Linked DNA regions of Homo sapiens: regions 1 and 2 are each linked to region 3. The links are contacts of gene promoters, found by promoter capture Hi-C in human tissues and cell types (Jung and others, 2019). All regions are on one chromosome and are shown on one strand. Each heading gives the region's core, a stretch centred on a gene start or on the middle of the fragment in contact. The rest is flanking DNA. Distances are from core to core; before and after follow the strand shown. Region 1 holds the start of SNX15 (sorting nexin 15). Region 2 holds the start of NAALADL1 (N-acetylated alpha-linked acidic dipeptidase like 1). Region 3 holds the start of RASGRP2 (RAS guanyl releasing protein 2).

What was found. The method cuts DNA at HindIII sites, captures the fragments that hold promoters and counts their contacts. A contact is called where the count stands out against the background at its distance.
Region 1: the fragment with the promoter of SNX15 here is called in contact with the fragment with the promoter of RASGRP2 in region 3 in 4 of the 25 tissues and cell types used here (adrenal gland, aorta, dorsolateral prefrontal cortex and 1 more).
Region 2: the fragment with the promoter of NAALADL1 here is called in contact with the fragment with the promoter of RASGRP2 in region 3 in 5 of the 25 tissues and cell types used here (dorsolateral prefrontal cortex, heart left ventricle, heart right ventricle and 2 more).

The regions. Positions count from the first base shown.
Region 1 is chr11:65,026,138-65,028,973 of GRCh38, reverse strand. SNX15 (sorting nexin 15) reads right to left here and starts at 1,535. Exons shown (of 8, transcript NM_013306.5): 1 at 1,338-1,535. The coding sequence starts at 1,436. ARL2-SNX15 (ARL2-SNX15 readthrough (NMD candidate)) reads right to left here. Exons shown (of 11, transcript NR_037650.2): 4 at 1,338-1,656. It also overlaps the pseudogene EEF1A1P18. RefSeq lists a silencer at 1,404-1,573 and an enhancer at 1,423-1,717. The HindIII fragment of the contact is 29,710 bases long and covers 1-2,836 here.
Region 2 is chr11:65,057,288-65,060,136 of GRCh38, reverse strand. NAALADL1 (N-acetylated alpha-linked acidic dipeptidase like 1) reads left to right here and starts at 1,584. Exons shown (of 18, transcript NM_005468.3): 1 at 1,584-1,800; 2 at 1,887-2,059; 3 at 2,141-2,262; 4 at 2,644-2,766. The coding sequence starts at 1,616. The HindIII fragment of the contact is 22,908 bases long and covers 1-2,849 here.
Region 3 is chr11:64,742,795-64,745,498 of GRCh38, reverse strand. It overlaps RASGRP2 (RAS guanyl releasing protein 2), which reads left to right and starts at 1,357. Exons shown (of 17, transcript NM_001098671.2): 1 at 1,357-1,496; 2 at 2,562-2,704. The coding sequence starts at 2,633. RefSeq lists silencers at 241-440, 691-800, 1,791-1,840, 2,001-2,050, 2,361-2,690. The HindIII fragment of the contact is 18,641 bases long and covers 1-2,704 here.

The DNA of each region.
Region 1 (2,836 bases), core at 286-2,785, 280 kb before region 3:
GACTACAGGTGCACGCTGCCACGCCCGTAAGTTTTTGTATTTTTAGTAGAGATGGGGTTTCACCATGGTAGCCAGGATGGTCTCGATCTCCTGACCTCGTGATCCGCCCGCCTCGGCCTCCCAAAGTGCTGGGATTACAGGCGTGAGCCACCGCGCCCGGCCACCACTGGGAAGACTTATAATAAAAGGTTACAGTTCCTTGCCACATCCTCCCCACCCCAGCCCCACCTCCAGTCTATCTTCCCAGGGACAATCTATTTATTTGCTTTTTTTTTTTTTTTTTTTAAAGTTGTGTGTGTGTCTGTATTTTAATATTGATCCGGGGTCTCACTATGTTGCCCAGGCTCGTCTTGAGCTCCTGAGCTCAAGCAATCTGCTGCCTCAGCCTCCCAAAGTGCTGGGATTTACAGGCATGAGCCACTGAGCCCGGCCTTATTTGCATTATTTTTAGGCATGGAAAAGACGTAAACGGTTTGGGGAAAGCATATTTTAAATAGCTAAGATTCTGCACTTAGATCACTTTGGAAGTGTCCTTATGTGCCTGCTTTGCTTTTAGAGTTAACTAATGCACCAGCTTAATAGTCGCCTGGTTGAAAATTCTAAAAGTACAAAAAATTTACAGTAAAAAGTCTTCCCCTAACTCCTGTCCCCAGTGACACAGTTCCTCTCCCTGGGGACCTTCCTTGTTACCAGTTCTTGTTATCATTCTACAGGTGTCCTGTTTTACTGTTTCATTTTTAATTATTGTCATGGTTTCCTCCATGTCTCTCTATAAATTGTGCTTATGATGTTGTTATCGCTTCATATATCAACTCTAGCCTATCTATCTTCCTGCTGTGACCTTGATATGGCGACTTACTCCTTAAGTCCTTCTGAACTGCATCAATTTTTTTCAACCACTGATCAGTATTATTTTTTGAAAAATTAAAAATGGTTAAACTCGTTAAAGGGAGTTTATGTAACATCAAACAAACCAATAAACAAAACTTACTCTACGAGAATGGAGTACTAATATTTGGATTAAACCAGAGTTTTCATGTTAATTTAGAGAAATTCACAGCCTGATGCCCAGACACTACACTCCGGGCGTGGGCATACACGCCTTGCCTGTCCGGGAACGGCCGTCAACGCCCTTTTAAAAAAGACAGCGCCCACCCAGGACCCCGCCCCCTGGTGGTTAAAGATGTAAACTAAGCCTCGTACTGCAACCTCCCCTTAAAGGGGAAACCCATTTCTGTCGTCTAAAAAGGGAGCAGTGGCTGCACCGCCTTTCCTTAAGGTAAAACTCGGCGCCCCTCTAGTTAAAAGGGTAAAGTACGCGCTGGGCCCCACCTCACCTGCGCGGTTACTTTGTACTCGGTGTAGCCCTTGGGGTGAGTCCTGGGGTCCGACACTGTGTAGTGCCGCAGGAAGTCATCCTTCGCCTGGCGGGACATGAAACCGAGCTGGAGCGGAGCGGAGCGCCGGCCTCCACCTCCTCGCCGTCCCCACCCCTCCGGCCCAGCCTCCGCCCGCCGCCGCCTCGCCAGGCCTGCGCTCTTCTTCCTCTGGCCTAGGGATTTTGTCGCAAGTGACAGCGCTGTTCCGATCCCGGGTGCGCGGCCAAGGGAGCGTCTGAAAAGTTCCTTCTCTGTGGTGAAGCGTAAACCCAGGTCACTGGAAAGATTGGTTGGGAAGGCTGGGATCACTCGTCTCATTTCTGCCGGGTGATCAAGCCCACCCTATCCAAGCGTAAACCCTTGTCACAGACTTCCAAACGACTTCTCCCCGCTTCCTAAATCCCTGCTTTCGTTCATCCACCCAACTCTTATTGTGTCCAGTATGTACAGGACAACGTCAAATTATTTCCCTGTCTCCCTCCACAGGATTCCCTAATTCATGTTTTCTGGAAAGTAGAGGAAGCAAAGAAGGTTGGAGAAGCAGGATGGTGTCATGGGCTCTGAGTCACGACTCTTACTAGCTGTAGGAGTTTCCCTTAACTACTCAGCCTCAGTTTCTCATCTGTAGAATGGAGATGTTTATAATAGAATCTGTGTAGGGCAGTGGAGCTTTTTTGCGATGGGTTTGCTGCCAGAACACAGGTGTCGTGAAAACCACCGTTAAATCAAAGCCAAAATGGGGGTTTGGCGCGGTGGTTCACGCCTGTAATCCCAGCATTTTGGGCAGTGGAGGCAGGTGGATCACTTGAGGTCAGGAGTTCAAGACCAGCCTGGCCAACATGGTGAAACCCCGTTTCTACTAAAAATACAAAAATTAGCTGGGCGTGGTGGCGCACGCCTGTAATTCCAGCTACTCCAGGGGCTGAGCTGGCTGATGGCTTCAGCCCAGGAGGTTGAGGCTGCAGTGAGCTGCAATCACACCACTGCACTCCAGCCTGGGCAACAGAGTGAGACTCCATCTCAAAAGAAAGGGAGCAGGGGAGGGAAAAGACTCAGCTCAACATCATCATCTGATTTGGGCAAGTCCAGCACTACTGGCCATCTGATCTACAAGTGTGGTGGGATCCACAAAAGAACCATCGACAATTTTGAGGAAGCTGCTGAGATGGGAAAGGGCTCCTTCAAGCATACCTGGGTCTTGGGTAAGCTGAAAGTTGAACGTGAGAGTGGTATCACCACTGATACCTCCCTGCTGGCAATTGAGACCAGCAAGTACTATGTGACCATCCTCAATGGCCCAGGATGCAGAGACTTTATCAAAAACCTGACCTCAGGCTAATTGTGCTGTCCTGATTGTTGCTGCTGGTGTTGATGAATTTGAAGCTGGTAATTCCAAGAATGGGCAGACGCGTGAGCACACCCTTCTGTCTTACACGCTGGGTGTGAAACTAATTGTT
Region 2 (2,849 bases), core at 335-2,834, 310 kb before region 3:
CACACACACACACGCTCTGCCCTGATCCAGCCCCCAAGCTCTGCAGGCATCTTTGAGCCCATCCATGGGCTGCAACCTGCGAGGCAGAGTCAAGGCAGGATAGGCCATGGGAGGGTGGGAGAAGTCCCAGCTCAAGTCCCTAGGGACCCCCCCAGCCCCTCCTGGCTCTCCGTGAGGTCTGGAAGAGGCTCAGTATGTGTATGGCATACTTGGGGTCTCACTTCCCTCTCAGCCCTTGCAAATGCTGGAACACCTTTTCAGCCTTGGAGGACCCCCTCAGATGTTCCCTCCTAGTCAGAACTCCTCACTCTTTCACTGGGAGCATGGTGATCCTCCCTCTACAGGGCACTTACCACATGGCTGAACCTAAAGCCTGTCTGCCTCGCCTGCTGGATTTTGCTTCCCCACAGCCTTGCATGGCTCTAGTATAGCACAGAATGAACAGTGCTTGCATGTATAAAGGAAGGAATGAATAAGTGAATGGAGGGATGGGTGGATGGATAAATAGGAGGGTGGATGACGGAGTCCAGGCAGAGCCAGGGGATAGAAGAGGAAGTCACCTCGCCAGGGAGGCATGGGCTTCCCCTGCTGCCTCCTCTGGGACAGCCTCCCTTCCCAGGACTCCCATTCCTCGTATCGCTGGGCTCCCTTCAGGATAGACACAGAGAGTTCTTCTGGGTCCTCCTTCTTCCTTTAGCTCTAGGCCTTACATTTTCCAGAGTCAGATGAGGGATGAGTAGTTAAAATTGATGAGCTCCCACTACATGTCAGACACTGCACTAGCTATTTCTACAGATGCCATATTGTTTAATGAAAATGACACCATAGCCGGCACGGTGGCTCACTCCTGTCATCCCAGCACTTTGGGAGGCTGAGGCGGGTGATCACCTGAGATCAGGAGTTTGAGACCAGCCTGGCCAACATGGTGAAACCCCATCTCTACTAAAAATACAAAAATTAGCTGGACATGGTGGTGCACACCCGTAATCCCAGCTACTCGGGAGGCCGATGCAGGAGAATCACTTGAGCCCGGGAGGTGGAGGTTGCAGTGAGCCGAGATCACACCACTGGACTCCAGCCTGGGTGTCAGTGGAAGACACAGTCTAGAAAAAAAAAAAAGAAAACAGGTGTAGAGAAGCTGAGTGGATTGCCCAAGGTCACACAGCTTACGTCCAGCAAGAAGGGGGATCTCAACTCAAAATCTGCTCAGGCAGGTAGGGCTGGGTATGCTGTAGATCGGCTGCCTTGGAGGGAGGCAGAGGCAGTGAGGGTGGGCAGTGGGCACGGCCCTGCTGTGAACACAGGAGCTCTGAGTTCCAGCCCTGGCTTGGCCTCTGTTTTCCTGGGACACCCTGGATGAGCCCCTTCCCTCTCGGCTTCAGTGTCCCTGGGTGACCTTGCTGCCCTTGGAGAGCCATTCCAGGCAAATGGTGCAGGATGTGGTGGATGTGGATGGCTCCTGGCTCTCACTGCGGGATGTTCCCTCACTCTCCCTGCCAGCTGGGGGTCAAAGGGCAGTGCCACCCATGGGGTAATGTTTAACCAGGCACAACACCCCCTCTATAGGGAATAACCTATAGACCAGTCCTACCCCAGCTGGCCAAGAGTCCGCAGGATGCAGTGGACGAAGGTGTTGGGGCTGGGGCTGGGGGCTGCTGCCCTCTTGGGGCTGGGGATCATCCTCGGCCACTTTGCCATCCCCAAAAAAGCCAACTCACTGGCCCCCCAGGACCTGGACCTGGAGATCCTGGAGACCGTCATGGGGCAGCTGGATGCCCACAGGATCCGGGAGAACCTCAGGTGAGAAGTGGGGCCATCTGCTCCTCCGTTTGCCAGAGGCCCCCTCCCTGATGCTGGCCCTGCCCCTCCCTCTGCCCACCCTGCAGAGAACTCTCCAGGGAGCCACACCTGGCCTCCAGCCCTCGGGATGAGGACCTGGTGCAGCTGCTGCTGCAGCGCTGGAAGGACCCAGAGTCAGGCCTGGACTCGGCCGAGGCCTCCACGTACGAAGTGCTGCTGTCCTTCCCTAGCCAGGAGCAGCCCAACGTCGTGGACATCGGTGAGGTCCTGCCCAGTCTTGGGAATGCCCGGGGGTGGGGAGCTGCTGGGCCCAGCCATGATACTGCCACCCCTCCAACAGTGGGCCCCACTGGGGGCATCATCCACTCCTGCCACCGGACTGAGGAGAACGTGACCGGGGAGCAAGGGGGGCCAGATGTGGTACAACCCTATGCTGCCTATGCTCCTTCTGGAACCCCACAGGTGGGCCCAGAACCCCCCCTACTGCTCTGGCCCAGCTCCCTTGGTTCCACCCAGGGTTCTCCCCACCCTGACCCAGGGAACGTGCCTCAACTGGGGCACAGCGCGCCCTCCGGAATTTACTCACCGGGACACTCCATCGCTGCTCCTTTCCTCCATCAGTCATTCAACAAACACTAGTGGCTCTGCTCAAGGCCAGGTCTGTTACAGGGCACCCAGACATGGAGGAAATGAGGGGTGACTGTTCTTGGGGAGCTTACAAGCTCTGGGTGAGGTGGGGGAACAGAATCTAAATTCTCCCTCCTGCCATGCAAACTTCCACCCCCCTTCCCCACCCACACTTCGCTGGGCCCAGCTCTAAGGATCACCCCCTCTTGGGACTAGGGCCTCCTCGTCTATGCCAACCGGGGCGCGGAAGAAGACTTTAAGGAGCTACAGACTCAGGGCATCAAACTTGAAGGCACCATTGCCCTGACTCGATATGGGGGTGTAGGGCGTGGGGCCAAGGTGAGTGGCAGTCCCCCAGTGCAGGAGGCCTCGGTGAGGAAGGGGCTGGGCAGTGGACTGGAGGAAGTGAGGGGAAGGGGAAG
Region 3 (2,704 bases), core at 108-2,607:
GCCCCCATTCCCAGACATCAAGGCCGCGTCTCCAGATAGCCACGATTTCATTCCTCGCTCCCCACAGGTCCCTCTCCCCAAAATATTCCCATCTTGTCCTAGCCCATCCCCCAGACTATCTCAAGGACCAGCTGTCCCCACGCCCCCGACCTCCACTAGGCCTGTGCCACCCGCTGCCTGCAGGAAGACGCCCGGTCCCGGGCCGGGTTAGCCCCATGGGAACGGTTTGTCTCGAAAACAGGAACCCGAGCTGGGGGCTGGGCGGGGCGCCCCTTCCCCACCGCAGTCCGCTTCCTGCCCCTCCCGGCTTCCTCCGCCCGACACCCAGGCAGGGCGGGGGGCACTGGGGCGTCCGCGGTTGGGGGAGGGGCTCTTCGTTTCGGTCCCCCCTCCGCGTCCCGGGCGGCGGGGCCTCCGGTCGCCCGCCCTCGGGGCAGCTAGTGGCGCAGCCCCCCGCCCGCGGCCCTGGCCTCCCGGGCGGCGCGGCAGGGGAGGGGTTAAGCTGCCGCAGGGACCGCCGCGTGCGGGGCGAGAGGGAGCCCCCGGTGGGGGTGGCGCAGCCGGCGGTGCGGAGCTCCGCGCAGGGGCGGAGGGGGGAGGGGGCAGCCTGGCGCGGGGGCGGGGGCGGGGCGGCGGGGAGCGGGGCCGCGGCGTGGAGAGCGGGCGGGAGCCGCAGCCGCAGCGAGGCCGGCGGGCGGGAGCGCACGGAGGTGGGGTCGGCCAGGCCGGTGCGGGCTCCTTGCGGCAGGTCCCAAGAGTGAGTGGGCGAGCGCGGGCGGGGCGCCAGGCGAAGGAGGGCGCGGCCCCCAGCGACTCCCCCCCCGCCCAGGGCGGCGCGGGCGGGCTGGGGGCGGCGAGCGGGTGGGGAGTCTGCGGCCCGGGTCTGGGAGAGGGGGCAGCGGCCACGAGAGCTAAGGCGCGCTGGATCCCCGGAGGGCGGAGGACCTCCACGGTGCACCCAGCTTTTCCCAGCCACCTTCCAGCGGGGCCCTCCCCCGCGTACCCCCATTTGGCAGATGAGAAAATTGAGGCTCCCAGAGGCCAAGTGATTCTCAAGGTCACACGAGGAAGCGGTAGAGCCAGGCGGGGACGGCTCTGGGTGGCTCTTAGGAAAAGTCCGCCTGAGAACTCCGTACAGGAGCTCCCCTGTCCTCCAGCCTGGGGGAGTGAGTATGTGTAGGGCCGGGGTACCTTTCCGTGGGGCAAGGCTCTGCCAAAATCTGGGAGTGAGGGGAGTCAGGGAGCTGGGGCCGCAGGGCGGGCCCTGCACCGCAAATGGGAGGGGGGCGACGGAATGGGCGTGCGCACCCATGGGGGTGTGTGCATGTGTGTGGGAGTGTACATGCGTGGAGAGGCACTGCCTTGCGTGTGTGCACACGTGTGAGGATGTCAGCGCCTGTGTGGCCGCGGGACTCAAGGCTGGCCTGGCTCAAGTGAACAGCACGTCCAGGAGGCGACCTCGTCCGCGGGTTTGCATTCTGGGGTGGACGAGCTGGGTATGTGTGCCTGAGGGTTTCTTCGTGCAGGTGTGCACAGGGTGTGGGTGCCATTGTGTGTGAGAGACGGAGGATGGGAGGCCGGTGCCTGTGGCCCGGTGCGTGTAAGTGCGGACGCCTGCACCTCCACTTAGGTCCCCGGCCTCCGACGAATAACTTGGGTGTGGAGTGTTTGCCCCTGCCAGGGTGCGTATGACCCCGCCAGTGACCGGAGTTGCTAATGGTGTCATGCACCCACCGGCCACCCTTGGCGCGAGCGCCCCCCTCTGGACACCCTGCTCCGTGCGCGCTCACAGTTCGCCTGTGCGGGGCCGGGGCCAGGGTCAGGAGCCGGGGATAGGGAGGAAGAGGGCCTGTGGACAAGCTGAGCCGGGACCCCTGGGACCTTTGCGGAGGTGGCCTGGGAGCGCTCAGTTCCCAGGCTCAGGCTTCCCGCTGACGCCTCCTGGCCGCAGCGGGCTCCCCCCGCCCCAGGAATGTTCCTCTCCCATCCAGTCCGCCTCCCCTAGGGCAGGCCCCCTGGGGGCTGCCGCAGCCCCGCCTCGCCTTCCTGGGCTCCCGGGAGGGGGCGAGGCGGGCAGGACGCCTGGGTTCTCTCCCCCCACCTCCCATACCAGGGAGAAATTCCTCCGAGGTCCCCTCAGGCTCTGGGTTCCCAAAATAACCCTGCGGGGGAAGGGAGGCTGTGGAGGGAGGGAAGCGGGAGGGGCGCAGAGCCGAGCTGCGGGGTGCTGCAGGTGCCTCTGGGGAGAGGGCGCGAGGAGAAGGCGCCCTGCGGGGGGCTGGGCGCCAGCCAGTCCTGGGATCTTGGTTCGTCCCCATCCTCGTGAAGCCCCTCGGCCTTCCCGCGACTCCGAGGGTGGGCCGGAAGCCTCTCTGCGGGTCCGTTTCCCAACTGGCGGGTTGCACCATCCCGGGCCAGACCGTTTAACCCCGGGAGTGGCCGCGGGGGACAACTCCGCCCCTGTCCAGCAGGGGGCGTGCCCGCCCCGCCCCGTTTCTGCCCGCGGGGCCGCTCCCCCGCCCGCGACTCCGCAGACTCCCGCTCTGCCTCTCCCGGGACAGGGGTTCGGTCCGAGCCCGGTGGGAGGCTCCCGGAGCGCAGCCTGGGCCCAGCCCACCCCGCGCCGGCGGCCATGGCAGGCACCCTGGACCTGGACAAGGGCTGCACGGTGGAGGAGCTGCTCCGCGGGTGCATCGAAGCCTTC